Linked DNA regions of Homo sapiens: region 1 is linked to region 2. Evidence: promoter capture Hi-C in 16 types of primary human blood cells and fetal thymus (Javierre and others, 2016). All regions are on one chromosome and are shown on one strand. Each heading gives the region's core, a stretch centred on a gene start or on the middle of the fragment in contact. The rest is flanking DNA. Distances are from core to core; before and after follow the strand shown. Region 1 overlaps GOLM2 (golgi membrane protein 2). Region 2 holds the start of EIF3J (eukaryotic translation initiation factor 3 subunit J).

Evidence for each region. The method cuts DNA at HindIII sites, captures the fragments that hold promoters and counts their contacts. A CHiCAGO score of 5 or more calls a contact.
Region 1: a contact is called between a fragment that was not itself captured here and the fragment with the promoter of EIF3J in region 2, in 1 of 17 cell types (erythroblasts). The highest score is 5.8, in erythroblasts.

Annotation. Positions count from the first base shown.
Region 1 is chr15:44,296,847-44,303,866 of GRCh38, reverse strand. The region is part of intron 1 of GOLM2 (golgi membrane protein 2); the gene reads right to left. Among named protein-coding and RNA genes, the nearest start is that of GOLM2, 12 kb to the right of the region's middle. RefSeq lists a silencer at 3,102-3,396. The HindIII fragment of the contact is 1,276 bases long and covers 2,841-4,116 here.
Region 2 is chr15:44,533,021-44,540,398 of GRCh38, reverse strand. It overlaps EIF3J (eukaryotic translation initiation factor 3 subunit J), which reads right to left and starts at 3,252. Exons shown (of 8, transcript NM_003758.4): 1 at 3,162-3,252; 2 at 2,972-3,075. The coding sequence starts at 3,204. EIF3J-DT (EIF3J divergent transcript) reads left to right here and starts at 3,476. Exons shown (of 2, transcript NR_034170.1): 1 at 3,476-4,356; 2 at 4,925-5,894. RefSeq lists silencers at 2,750-2,799, 2,820-3,129, 3,320-3,489 and enhancers at 3,660-4,109, 3,797-4,584. The HindIII fragment of the contact is 7,095 bases long and covers 2,686-7,378 here.

The DNA.
Region 1 (7,020 bases), core at 2,229-4,728, 240 kb after region 2:
CTACTCAGGAGGCTAAGGCACGAGAATTGCTTGAACCTGGGAGGTGGAAGTTGCGTTGAGCTGAGATCACACCACTGCACTCCAGCCTGGTGACAGGGCGAGACTCTGTCTCAAAAAAAAAAAAAAAAAAAAAATTAGCCAGGTGTGATGGCACAAGTTTGTAGTCCTAGCTGCTCCAGATGCTGAGGCAGGAGGATTGCTTGAGTCCAGAAGGTCAAGGCTGCAGTGAGCCATGATCATGCCACTGCAGTTTAGCCTGGGTGACAGAATGAGACCCTGTCACCAAAAAAAACAAACAAAAATCCAAGCTATGCTTATAACTCAAACTTTTTTTCATTATATCCCCATGAAGCTAATCCCAAGGTTTTGTTCTCTTCACTTAAACACTAAATTGAATCAGAAAAATATTTTTGAGTTTCTAAATGAATAAAATATTATTCTAGATCTACTATAACACGTTTCAAATAAAAGATATATTCTATGTATACTAGAAAGATGAGTTGACAAGCAGTAGTTTTACATCTGAATATTTTAGTTATGTCTTCCAGAAAAGGTAGTGCAATCAGATATGTGGATAATATCTGTGGTAGCCCTAGTACATATTTATGCACCCGTTGGTTCAAGAAGCAATACAAATTGCTAAATCAATCATCAAATATTTACTGAGTCCAGACATAGGGAATAGTATGAAATATTAAGTGTTAGATTTATACTAGATTTAGACTATTTATTTATTTATTTATTTATTTATTTATTTATTTATTGAGATGGAGTATTGCTCTGTCGCCCAGGCTAGAGTGCAGTGGCGCGATCTCCACTCACTGCAACCTCTGCCTCCCAGGTTCAATTGATTCTCCTGCCTCAGCCTCCCAAGTAGCTGGGACTACAGGCGTCCGCCACTACGCCCGGCTAATTTTTGTATTTTTAGTAGAGACGGGGTTTCACCATGTTGGCCAGGATGGTGTTGACCTCTGGACCTCGTGATACGCCCACCTCAGCTTCCTAAAGCGCTGGGATTACAGGTGTAAGCCACTGCGCCCAGCCTAGACTATATTTTTATAGTCAAGAAATTCACAGGCTGGATATGGTGGCTCATGCTTGTAATCCCAACACTTTGGGAGGCCAAGGCCGGCAGATCACTTAAGTCCTGGAGTTCAAGACCAGCCTGGGCAACACAATGAAACCCCATCTCTACAAAAAAAATAAAAATTAGCTGGGTGTGGTACTGTGCACCTGTAGTCCCAGCTACCTGGGAGGCTGAGGCAGGAAGCTCGATTGAATCTAGGAGGTGGAGGTTGCAGTGAGCTGAGATGGTGACACTGCACTATAGCCTGGGCAACAGAGTGAGACCCCATCTCAAAAAAAATAGGAAAGAAAGAAAATTCACAATATATCATTGGAAGACAAGAAAAAAACTAGAACCACTAGGCGTGGTGGCTCATGCCTATAATCCCAGCACTTTGGGAGGCCGAGGTGAACAGATCACTTGAGGCCAGGAGTTTGAGACCAGCCTCGTCAACATGGCAAAACCCTGTCTTTACTAAAAATACAAAAATTAGCTGGGTGTGGTGGCATGTGCATGTAGTCCCAGCTACTTGGGAGGCTGAGGCAGGAGAATCGCTTGAACCCATGAGACAGAGGTTGCAGTGAGCCAAGATCGTGACACTGCACTCCAGCCTGGGCAACAGAGTAAGACTCCATCTCAAAAAAAAAAAAAAAATTAAATGTAAAAAAGAGAGTCAATCAATGGCTTCCTATTGCCCTTAACATGACTCACAAATCTTTTCACAATCTGAATCCAGTCTTGTAGTGCAACATCAAATATTATCACACTCATTCTAGCTCCCTCATTCCACATGGTGAACTTTTTTTTTTGAGATAGGATCTCACTCTGTTGCCCAGCCTGGAGTACAGTGGTGCCATGACCTTGGCTCCTAAGTTTTTTTTTTTTTTTGAGAGAGGGTCTCCCTCTGTAGCCCAGGATGGAGTGCACTTGGCATGATCTTGGCTCACTGCAACCTCTGCCTCCTGGATTCAAGTAATTCTCCTGCCTCAACCTCCCGAGTAAATGGGATTATAGGCATGTGGCACCATACCCGGCTGATATCCTGTGCTTTAAAATATGCAATAAAATAAAATATGCAACATTCTACATCTGGAACCCTCTTTTCATCTCTCCTGAGCCTCTTATCTCAAACCTCTCACTCAATCTTTGCCTCATTAAATCCTGATCTTTTTTTTAGGACTCAACTAAAACTCTCAAGAATGTCATCCCTAAGCCTCTAAAATAGGTTAGGTCTTCCCCTCATAGCCCCTGCTCAAGGGTAAGTTCCATAGTCAATGTATACCATATCTGTCTTGTTCACTCATTCACTATGTGATATGCATGCAGCATAGTAACTGATCCAAAATAGAAACTTGAACATATTTGTTCAATAAAGAAATTAAAATGGGGTTAAAGATGGAAGCACAGCATATGTAAACATTGAGTGGGAAAATGATAGGATAACCAAGATAAATGGGTATTATTAAAGCTAAAGGGAAGAAGTTTCAAAAAGGAGAGAAAGGAGAGATCATCAGTATAAAATGCTATAGAGAGTCAAGTTTAAGAGTGAAAATGTAGCCAGGCATGGTGGCTCATGCCTGTAATCCCAGCACTTTGAGATGCTGAGGCGGGAGGATCACTTGAGGCCAGGAGTCTGAGGCTGCAGTGAGCTATGAGAGGCCTTTGTTAATCATCAAATGAGAAAAAATGTTCCCCTAAGTTGAACTTAAATTGGATATAGAAAATTGAAATTGTAAAAGGAAAGCAAATCATTTTATATTAAATAGAAAAAGCTTCGTGGATGTAAGTTTTGAAGTCATCCTCAGGGAAAAAGTGTAGTTTGGAAAAGAGAAAGAATCAGACATTAAAAGCATCTGAGCAAAAGCTCTGTGGCAACATTGTTCAAAAGAGGAACTACCTGGCCAGAAACAGTGTAAGAAAATTAGATAAAGTTAATTAAGAACAAGAAAGAGAGCCTTGAAGCACTGTGAGAAACTGAAATTACTGCATGCCCAGTCTGTCCCTAGAAAAAAGCCTGGACTTTGAATTCAAGGAAACTTTAACTCTCTTTTGAGGAAGAGGCTAACATGGGGAACTTTAAGGTCTTCAACCAAAAATTGTAAGGACTAGTTCCTCCTGTTTAATGAGGTCATAAGTCAAAAGGTACTCCCTGTCACTTCAGGAGACAGATGTTACATGCCACACTATAAGAACTGTTTGTTTGCCTCTATGGAGTAAGTAAAAGGGAGCTCCTTGAATGTCCTTTTACCTTTTTTCTGCACAACTAAATCCTAGTCATCATTTTTCAAAAAGCAGCTTGTTTTATGATCTTCATGGAACCTCCTGAGATTACTCAGTCCTTTATCAGGAGAGTAAGAAAAAACAGAGAAATACAAAAATAAGAAAGGGAGACAAAGAAAAGTGAAAACTTGTTTCAAAGATCATTTTAGTGTATAGCACAGTAAGTGCCCAATATATTTAATAAATTTTTGTCAACTGAATTAATATACTTGGGTTTCAATAGAATAATACAAGACTAAACTTCTTCCTTCCTTCCTCCCTCCCTTCTTCCTTTCTTTTCTTTCTTCCCTCTCCCTCTCCCTCTTTCTTCCTCTTTCTCTCCTTCCCTCCTTCCTTCCCTCCCTTCCTTCCTTCCTTCTCTTTCCTCCTCCCCTCCCCTCCTCTCCTCTCTTCTTTTCTTTTTTCCTTTTCTTTCTTTTTTTGAGACAGGGTCTTGCTCTGTTGTCAGGCTAGGGCACAGTGGCACAATCATAGCTCCCTGCAGCTTCAAACTCCTGGGCTCAAGTGATCCTCCAGCTTAAACCTCCCAAGCAATTAAGACTATGGGCATGTGTCACCATGCCCAGCTTTTTTTTTTTTTTTTTTTTTTTTTTTGCTATGTTGCCCAGGCTAGCCTCAACCTCCTGGCCTCACATGATCCTCCTGCCTCAGCCACCCAAAGTGCTGGGATTATAGGCATGAGCCACTACACCTAGCCCCAAATTTCTTCAAGATTAGCTATACCAATGCACCCATGAAAGAAAGGAACCAATATTATTAAATGTCAAGCTTTGTATGGGACAGGCCTCTAAATATTTTACTTCATGAATCCTCTTCATTTTATGAGTGAAGAAACAGGCTTAAGGAGAGGTAACATAATGGTAGAATTATAAACTCAAGTCTGTTTGACTCCAAAAACCCTTGTTCTTTCCAGTGAACCATACTGCCACACAGTATATATTATATAAGAGTAGTTATCTAGTCAATTTGGGAGGCCGAGGCGGGCGGATCACCTGAGGTCAGGAGTTCAAGACCAGCCTGGCCAATATGGTGAAACACTGTCTCTATCAAAAATGCAAAATTTAGCTGGGTGTGGTGGTGCGTGCCTGTAATCCCAGCTACTCGGAAGGAAGAAGCAGGAGAACCACTTGAACTCGGGAGGTGGAGGTTGCAGTGAGCTGAGATCGCGCCACTGCACTCCAGCCTGGGCGACAGAGCGAGACTCTGTCTCAAAAAAAAAAAACAAAAACAATTATCTAGTCAAAAAATCAAATTAACTTTTAAGTATGCATTTGTGTATTTGTTTCCTAGGCTGATATAACAAAGTGCCACAAACTGAATAGCATAAAGCAGAAATGTATTGTCTCACAGTGCTAGAGGATGGTTTCAGAGGCTAGAAGTCCAAAATCAAGGTGTTGGCAAAGCCCTGTTCCCACTGGAGCCTCTAGGGGGAGGCTCCTGGCTTCTGGCTTCTGGTAGCCCTGGGCATTCCTTGGTTTGTGGAAACATAACTCCAATCTCTGCCTTTATCTGCCATGCGGTCTCTGCAATGTGTCTGTGTGTCTCTGTGTATTCATGCACCTGGTGTTCTCCCTAATTCTATTTTTTTTTCTTATAAGGATACCAGTTATAATGGAATAGGGGCCACCCTAATCCAGTATGACCTCATTTTAACTTGATTACATCTGCAAAGACCCTATTCCCAAACTAAGATAACATTCACAGGTGATTTAGACTTCAATATATCCTTTTAGGGGATACAAATCAACCTCGTACATTTTGTAACAGCACTAAGAACAATTTTTCCCGCAGGAAAAAATTTAAAACATAGTCCTTCCTCAAGGAACTTAAAATTTCGTTGAGAAAACGAAGTTCACAAACAATAAGCTATTAGTAAAAAATGAACAAAATAAGTTAATGAAGCTCAAACAATAAATGTAAATGGTGTATAAAGAAGGAAAAGCATGGCTGGGAGCAGTGGCTCACACCTGTAATCCCAGCACTTTGGGAGGCCCAGGTGGGTGGATCACCTGAGGTTAGGAGTTCGAGACCAGCCTGGCCAATGTGGTAAAACCCCATCTTTACTAAAAATACAAAAAAAAAAAAAAAAATTAGCCGGCCATGGTGGTGGGTGCCTATAATCCCAGCTACTTGGGAGGCTGAGGCTAGAGAATCACTTGAACCTGGGAGGCGGAGGTTGCAGTAAGCTGAGATCGCGCCATTGCACTCCAACCTGGGCGACAAGAGCAAAACTCCATCTCAAAAAAAAAAAAAAAGAAAAAGAAAAGAAGGAAAAGCATATTCCAGGTCAGAAGTCCCAGGGGGCTTCATAGTGGACATGGATCAGAAGCTGGATAAAAGATTGGTAGAATAGGCCAGGTGTGGTGGCTCATGCCTGTAATCCCAGCACTTTGGGAGGTCAAGGTGGACGGTTCACAAGGTCAGGAGTTCGAGACCAGCTTGGCCAACATGGTGAAACCCCATCTCTATTAAAAATACAAAAAAATTTAGCCAGGCCTGGTGGTGCGTGCCTGTAATCCCAGCTACTCAGGAGGCTGAGGCAGGAGAGTCGCTTAAACCCGGGAGGCGGAGGTTGCAATGAGCCAAGATTGCGTCACTGTACTGCAGCCTGGGCAACAGAGCAAGACTCCATCTCAAAAAAAAAAAAAAAAAAGGCCAGGTGCGGTGGCTCACACCTGTAATCCCAACACTTTGGGAGGCCAAGGCGGGTGGATCATGAGGTCAGGAGATCAAGATGGAGACCATCCTGACTAACATGGTGAAACCCCTTCTCTACTCAAAATACAAAAAATTTAGCTGGGCCTGGTGGCGGGTGCCTGTAGTCCTAGCTACTCAGGAGGCTGAGGCAGGAGAATGGTGTGAACCCGGGAGGCGGAGCTTGCAGTGAGCCAAGATCACACCACTGCACTCCAGCCTGGGCGACAGAGCAAGACTCTGCCTCAATTAAAAAAAAAAAAACAAAAAAAAATTGGTATAATAAATATACAGAAAAGAGGCAAGAAACTAAGAGTCAAACAGCAGGAACAAAGGCACAGAAACAGGAATTAACATGACACAGAAAGGCAGGTGGGAAGGCAAAAGTAAGCAAAACAATCAGCCTGAAATACAATTTGGGTCAGGAGATAGTGGGAGACAAAGGTAGCTAGAGCCATTCTATGGAAGACCTTAAAGATGAGACAGCAGAATTCTAACCTGATGTAGTCAGTGAGTCATACAGCCACTCTGAAAATAAGGTTTGAGGAAGTTCAGGCTGGCTTCACAGGAGAACTGACAAAAAGAAATGGAGACCAAGGAAAGGGGACTAGTTAGGGATCTGCCAAGTTCTCTATTCTGCAGTCAGAATGACGTTTTTTTTAATTCGATCAAGTAACTCCTCTGCATGTTGAAGCACTCAATATGATACACTGAAGGAATCAAAGACAACACCAAATTTCTAACCTCAGTCTTAAATAACAGTTGCATGGGCATCATTTATAGGAACCAAGAAGGTAGGAAAGGGATATCGTTTGGAAGAGTTATCAGTTTTGATTGGTTTATGAATAATTTGAGGTAGAAATTACAGTTAAAAGTTGGCCAGATTATGGCTGGTGAGGCAGAGGCAAAGGCAGGAATTATCATGTGCAGCATATTAGAACTGTAGAAGGTTGATACTCAAATTACAGAAGAACAGGCAA
Region 2 (7,378 bases), core at 2,003-4,502:
GGTGCAGTGGCTCACATCTGTAATCCCAGCACTCTGGGAGGCCGAGGCGGGAAGATCACTTTGACCTCAGGAGTTTGAGACCAGCCTAGGTAACATGGCGAAACCCTGTATCTACAAAAAAAAAAAAAAAATATATATATATATATATATATATATATATATAGCCAGGCGCGGTGGCTCACGTCTGTAATCCCAGCACTTTGGGAGGCCGAGGCGGGTGGATCACGAAGTCAGGAGTTCAAGACCGGCCTGGCCAAGATGGTGAAACCCCGTCTCTACTAAAAATACAAAAATTAGCTGGGTGTGGTGGTGGGCGCTTGTAATCCCAGCTACTCGGGAGGCTGAGGCAGAGAACTGCTTGAACCTGGGAGGCGGAGGTTGCAGTGAGCCAAGATCGTGCCACGGCACTCCAGCCTGGGTGACAGAGCAAGACTCTATCTCAAAAAAAAAAAAAAGAAAAAAATATGTAAATTAGCTGGGCACGGCGGTGCACACCTGTAATCCCAGCTACTAGAAAGGCTGAGGCTGGAGAATCACTTGAATCCGGGAGGCGGAGGTTGCAGAGATCGTGCCACTGCACTCCAGCCTGGGAAACGGGGTGAGACCTTCTCTCAAAAAATTAGATGAATAGATAGATTGCTTTAAGTTAAAAAAAAAAAAAAAAAAGAAAAAGAAATTTAGCACTAAAACAGCAACTGGGGCCGGGTGTGGTGGCTCACGCCTGTAATCCCAGCACTTTGGGAGGCCAAGGCGGGCAGATCACAAGGTCAGGAGATTGAGACCATCCTGGCTAACACGGTGAAACCCCGTCTCTACTAAAAATAGAAAAAATTAGCCGGGCGTGGTGGTGGGCACCTGTAGTCCTCGGGAGGCTGAGGCAGGAGAATGGAGTGAACCTGGGAGGCGGAGCTTGCAGTGAGCGGAGATTGTGCCACTGCACTCCAGCCTGGGTGACAGAGCGAGACTCCATTTCCAAAAAAAAAAGAGCAACTGGACAAGATAATCTTTGTGGTCCCTTACAACTTGTAAATATCCAAAACTTGTTCCAAGTGATCAGAATTATATTCATCAGAGGCTGGGTACGGTAGCTCACGCCTATAATTCCAGCACTTTGGGAGGCTAAGGCAGGAGAATCACCTGAGGTCAGAAGTTCAAGACCAGCCTGGGCAACATGGCGAAACCCCGTCTCTACTAAAAATACAAAATTAGCCAGGCGTGGTGGTGCGTGCCTGTAATCCCAGCTACTTGGGAGGCTGAAGCAGGAGAATCACTTGAACCCAGGAGGTGGAGGTTGCAGTGAGCCAAGATCGCGCCATTGCACTCCAGCCTGGGCAACAAGAGCGAAACTCCATCTCAAAAAAAAAAAAAAAAAGAATTATATTCATCAAGATCGATACCATTTAGATCCCTTAATCCCAAGGAAGTTATTCCATGACATTAGTCTAGACTATCCATTAAAACTTCATTTTCTGCAACTTCTTTCCTAATATCTCTAATCTTTTCTCTGCATTTGTTAATTTATTCCCAAATTTCATAACAGATGTCTTAACTGCCACTTCCTATATGCATGGAAAAAAATGAAAGGACCAATATGAACCCAAGGCTCAAAACTGAAAATCTGCTACAATGTAGAGGGGTAACTAATATCTTGTAATGCGGCTGGTAACAAAATCTAGTCCCATGTTTCTACAACATGTAAATAAAGCATCTGAGTGTCTTCAAACAATAACCAGTCGATTTATTAACTTCAATGTGTGCAAAGCTCACAACATTCTTGAACCTCAGGCTGTCAGTAAATCGGACATCCACACATCCAACCTCATCGGACTGGGGAGAGAACAGAAAAACTCAAAACAACATTCCTATTAAGTTCATAGTGATTATCTAGCTTAAACTTTTCAGCCCAGGCAGGATTTATAGGGTTCTCCGTTTGTGTTTATAAATTAGGAGAAATTCACTAAATTAGGCAAAACCACAAAAAAAAATCATTTTCCATTTCACACAAAACTTTATCTGCACAAATATAACAAGATTTTGAGAACTTTGTTAATAAGAGTCTTAACATTTTGGATTTGAGACTTCTGTAACTACTGTAAAAAAAAAAAAAAACCATGTAGAAGTAAATGTCACTTACAGCTGTATAATGAACCCTTCGGAGTTTTCAAAATCAAACGACTGAGGTAAAAATGATTATCTACAAGGCACAGACAAAACAACAACAACAACAAAAAACCACGGGCCCGTCATCTACAACCACCACCAAATCTTCAATATTTCCTTAGGTGTCGTATGTGTGTAGTTGAGTAACTGTCGTCTCTCCATTTCTCAGGTCACGGTGTGAACTACCTGGGTTTCTGTCCACTAACTGCGGGCTATCTCAGTGGTCAGTTCATTCTTTTTACCACAGGGTGGGGGAAGGGAGAGCCAAAAGTTATTTCCCTTTACTGTTTCTAGCTGTCTCGTGTGGGAAAAAAAGGTTGAAATTCAACTACAATATTTCACTCATCTAATCCCTCGAACAAACTGTATAAGTAGACCTCAGGGTCATAAATGAGTTACTGGCCCTGGGCTGACTTGAGCTCGAAAAGACAGGCGAGTCTCAAGGCTTTCCATATGGATAAGCTACAAGGCTCAATTCCCAACTTCCCGGTCTCATTCCTGCGAGAGGCTCCGGACCGCGAAGCTTGCACGTGGGCCGACCCGGCCGATGCTGTCACCTTTCGTCGCCAGCCGGCGGGTGGGATCCACGCCGGAGAGCAGACTCTCAACCGGCGAGGGAGTCCGGGAGGCCACGCTGCCAGTCTTCGGCCCACACATGGCCGGCAAGCGGAGGGGAAGAGAGCACCGCCAGGCCCTATGCTCGCGCCTGGACCCACGGCCCGCAGGCCCCGGCAGCGACCCGGGGCCCAGAGTCGGCCGGCAACAGCGCCAGCCCGCTTCCGCGCTGCCCGGCGCCCTAGCCCGCACCCACCTTGACGTCCTCGTCCTCGTCCTCGCCTTCCCAGCGGTCCCCGCCGGCAGTGCCGCCGCCCCCCACCTTCCGCACTGGGTCTTCCACGGAGAAAGCGTCGGCGTCTACGGAAGAAAGCGAGCCGTGTTAGTGCCTGCCACTGCGTGGGGCCGGCGCCGGCCCGGGCCCTGCCCCAGCAACTTCTCCTCACCCCAGGAGTCCGAGTCCCCCGCCGCCGCCGCCGCCGCCGCCATCTCGAGCCGGGTGTGAGCGTGTGTGAGAGGGAGAGCTAGCGAGGAGTTAGCACGGCGGAGGTGAGTCACTGGGTTTGCTCTCGTTGACCGGCGCGGAGCAGGATGGGACCGTGGCTGACTGTGCGCCGAGCCGAGGCCACGCCCCCTCAGGCGGCGGCGGCGACGCGCGCGGGTAAGAAGTGGGCGGGGAACGCGGTCGGTGGCGCTGCGGGGCTGAGGGAGAGGCGGAGGGGGGGGCGGAGGGGGGCGGAGGGAGGGGCGGAAAGAGCAGAGGGAGGGGCACAGGGGGCTGAGGAGTGCTGGGTCGGGCTTCCAGCTCCCTACAACGCAGACCAGTACTGGAGTTCGTGGTGCTGGAAGACCGCCGCCCGACTCTGGGCCCCGGGTAGGAAACGTAAGTGCCAGGAAGTTAGCAGAGTGGTTCTTTGGCTGGCGCCTGAACCTCGCCAGTCTTCGTCGCCCCTCCCCTGCCAACGCCTACCCCGCTTCGACCGGAGGGTGCGCTGTCCCTCTGGTCACTGTGATCACCGTCCATGGCCGCCTGCGGATACCCACGCCGTGCTCAGAAGAGGGCTCTGAGGCCACGCCCGCCTGTGGGGTCGGTGGCCGGGCTTCCGGGACCCCAGAGGGAGTCGTCGCGCGCTAGGTGGAGGGGACCCCTCTGGAATCCGGCGATCCCCGGGCGCAGATGCAGGAGCGGGTGGGGAGAGCCGCGTTCCTGGCATGTTTGCCTCGAGTTAGTCACGAAGGAATCGAAGAGAGCCTTAGTCTTCGAGGCTTTTCCCTTCCTGTGAGCCCCTTTGAGGCCAGCACATTGATTTTTTTTTCTTTCGCAGAACAATTTCGGACCTCCTGGGGTCTATGCTAGGTATGAGGTGTATCTTTGCCCTCCATCAAGTAGCAAAGATGGACATGTAAACAAATTTCGACACTGTGATGACTGCCACAAAAAGCAGCATTATGAGGTTGAATGTAAAAGGATAACCTTAGCGGCGGCGGGGGCCGGAGGATGAAGGAAGGCTTCCTGAGGTAGGCGCTGGTTGAAACTGAAGTTGGAGAGAGCAAGTGGCATTTGCTGAAGTGCATTTCCGGTAGAAAACTCCAGTGGTCCCTCACCTGACTGAGTGGCGCAGTCAGAGATAAATGGAACAGGTACACTGACCAGAAAGGGCAAGATGGGCTAAACTTCGCCGTTGGGCCACTGGGCTCCCCCGCAGGATTTTAAAGAGCTAGCCAGTAGATGGATTTTGTTTTTGTTATTTTCGCAATTTATTTTCAAATATGTAATACGCGAACTTGGTACAACATTCATGTGATAAAAAGGTAGATACGTGGGCAGGACGCGGTGGCTCACGCCTGTAATCCCAGCATTTTGGGAGGCCGAGATGGGCGGATCATTTGCTGTCAGGAGTTCGAGACCAGCCTGGCCAACATGGTAAAACCCCACCTCTACTAAAAATACAAAAATCACCTGGGCGTGGTGGCGGGCGCCTGTAATCCCCACTACTAGGGAGGCTGAGGCAGGAGAATCGCTTGAACCCGGGAGGCGGAGGTTGCAACAGTGAGCCGAGATCGCGCCACGGCTCTCCAGCCTGGGCGACAGTTAGACCCGTCTCAAAAAAAAAAAAAAAACAAAAAAGGTAGATACAACGATCAGCTGCTCCGCTCCGTTCTTTCTAGTGGTAACCATTGTTCCCCCTTTCTGGTGTTATCTTTTCAGAGTCTACAAATAAACATTTTATAAAGATGATCCTTCAATACATATTCTACAGCCCAGTTAAAATGTGAGAGGCCATGATCTACAGACAGCCATTTATAAAGGTGGATCAGGGCCGGACACGGTGGCTCAACGTCTGTAATCCCGGCACTGTGGGAGGCCAAAGCGGGAGGATCGCTTGAGCCCAGGAGTTCGAGACCAACCTGGCCAACATGGTGAGACCCCATCTTTACAAAAAAATATATATATCCAGGCATAGTGGTGTGCACCTGTGGTCCTGTGGTCCCAGCTACTCAGGAAGCTGAGGCAGTTGAGGCTGCAGTGAGCCACGTTCTGGCCACTACACTCCAGCCTGGGCATCAAAGTGACAAGACCAAAAAAAAAAAAAAATGTGGATTGGAAGGAGGCAAGAAAGAAGTCAGGAAAAGGGTGGAATGTAAGTCCCTAAGGACACAATCTTACTCACAATTGTATCTCCAACATTTGGCATAATGCCTAATACGTAAGTATTTTATGAATTAATTAAACGAGAACACAAGCCTAAATTAAGGCAATGGCAATGGAGAAGAAGAAACCAACTTGAGAAATATTTAAAGGTCATTGTCAATGGAACTTAGTGACTTTAATGGTTAATTTTATCTATCAACTTGGCTAGGCGATGCTACCCATGTTACTCAGTTTTTGGTCAAACACTAGTCTAGTTGTTGCTATGAATTGTATTTGTTAGATGTGATTAACATTTAAATCAGCAGACTTTGATTAAAGTACATTACCCTCTATAATGAGGGTGGGCCGCATCCGGTCAGTTCAAATTAAAACGAGACCCTTAAGAAGAAGCAATTCAGCCTCCAGACTGCAGCGTCAAATCTCCCTGGGTCTCCAGGCTGTTTGTCTGCCCTGCAGATTTCAGACTTGCCAGCTCCCAGAATAATGTGAGCCAATTCCTTAAAATAAATCTCTTTCTGCATATACACATCCTATTGATTCTGTTTCTCTGGAGAACCCGTACTAATATAGTGTCTGACTAGATATGAAGGAGGAGGGGAAGGGAGAAATAGATAGACGATGCCTTTGGATATTGAGTGACACTTATCTAGTTGCTTAAGTCAAAAACCTGAAAACTGGTTAGGCACGCCTATTACGGGCTCACGCCTGTAATCCCAGCACTTAGGGAGGCTGAGGCAGGCAGATCATTTGAAGTAATTCAAGACCAGCCTGGCCAACATGATGAAACCCCAAGACCACTAAAAATACAAAAATTAGCCGGGCGTGGTGGCACATGCCTGTAACCCCAGCTCCTCAGGAGGCTAAAGCAGGAAAATTGCTTGAACCCAGGAAACAGAGGTTGCAGTGAGCCGAGATTGTGCTACTCCACTCCAGCCTGGGAGAGACTCCATCTGAAAACAAACAACAAAAAAAAATGCTGGGCACAGTGGCTCACGCCTGTAATCCCAGCACTTTAGGAGGCTGAGGCGGGCGGATCACCTGAGGTCAGGAGTTCAAGACCAGCCTGGCCAATGTGGCAAACCCCATCTCTACTAAAAATAAAAAAAAAATTAGCTGGGCATGTTGGCGGGCACCGTAATACCAGCTACTCGGGAAGATGAGGCAGGAGAATCACTTGAACCGGGAGGCAGAAGTTGCAGTGAGCTAAGATCGCGCCATTGCACTTTAGCCTGGGCGACGAGCGAAACTCCCTCTCAAAAAAAAAGAAGAAGGCTGGGCGCGGTGGCTCATGCCTGTAATCCCAGCACTTTGGGAGGCCGAGGTGGGTGGATCACTTGAGGTCAGTAGTTCGAGACTAGCCTGGACATGGTGAAACCTGTCTCTACTAAAAATACAAAAATTAGCCAGGTATAGTGGCTCATGCCTATAATTCCAGCTACTTGGGAGGTTGAGGCAGGACAATGGTTTGAACCCAGGAGGCAGAGGTTGTAGTGAGCTGAGATTGTGCCACTGCACTCCAGCCTGGATGACACTCTATCAAAAAAAAAAAAAAGAAAAGAAAAAAAAAAAAAAACTGGGGCATGTGGGTTGAAGGTGCTATGGAAAAATTCATGGGCTATGTGTATGCAGCATTGTTTTCAAAGCAGAAATTGAGAATTTATTTATAGTGGTGTGCATACTGCTTTTTCAAATGAGGAAACAGGAAAACAAGGTTCTAGACCTATGTATTAGGGACTTCCTTTAGTCTGTAAAACTTGTGCCAGGCGTGGTGGCTCACACCTGTAATCCCAGCACTTTGGGTGGCTGAGGCAGGTGGATCACCTGAAGTCAGGAGTTCCAAGACCAGGCTGGCCAACCTGGTGATACCCCCGTCTCTACTAAAAATACAAAAAAATAGCCGGATGTGGTGGTGCACTCCTGTAATCCCAGCTATTTGGAAGGCTGAGGCAGGAGAATCGCTTGAACCCAGGAGGCAGAGGTTGCAGTGAGCCAAGATCATGCCACTGCACC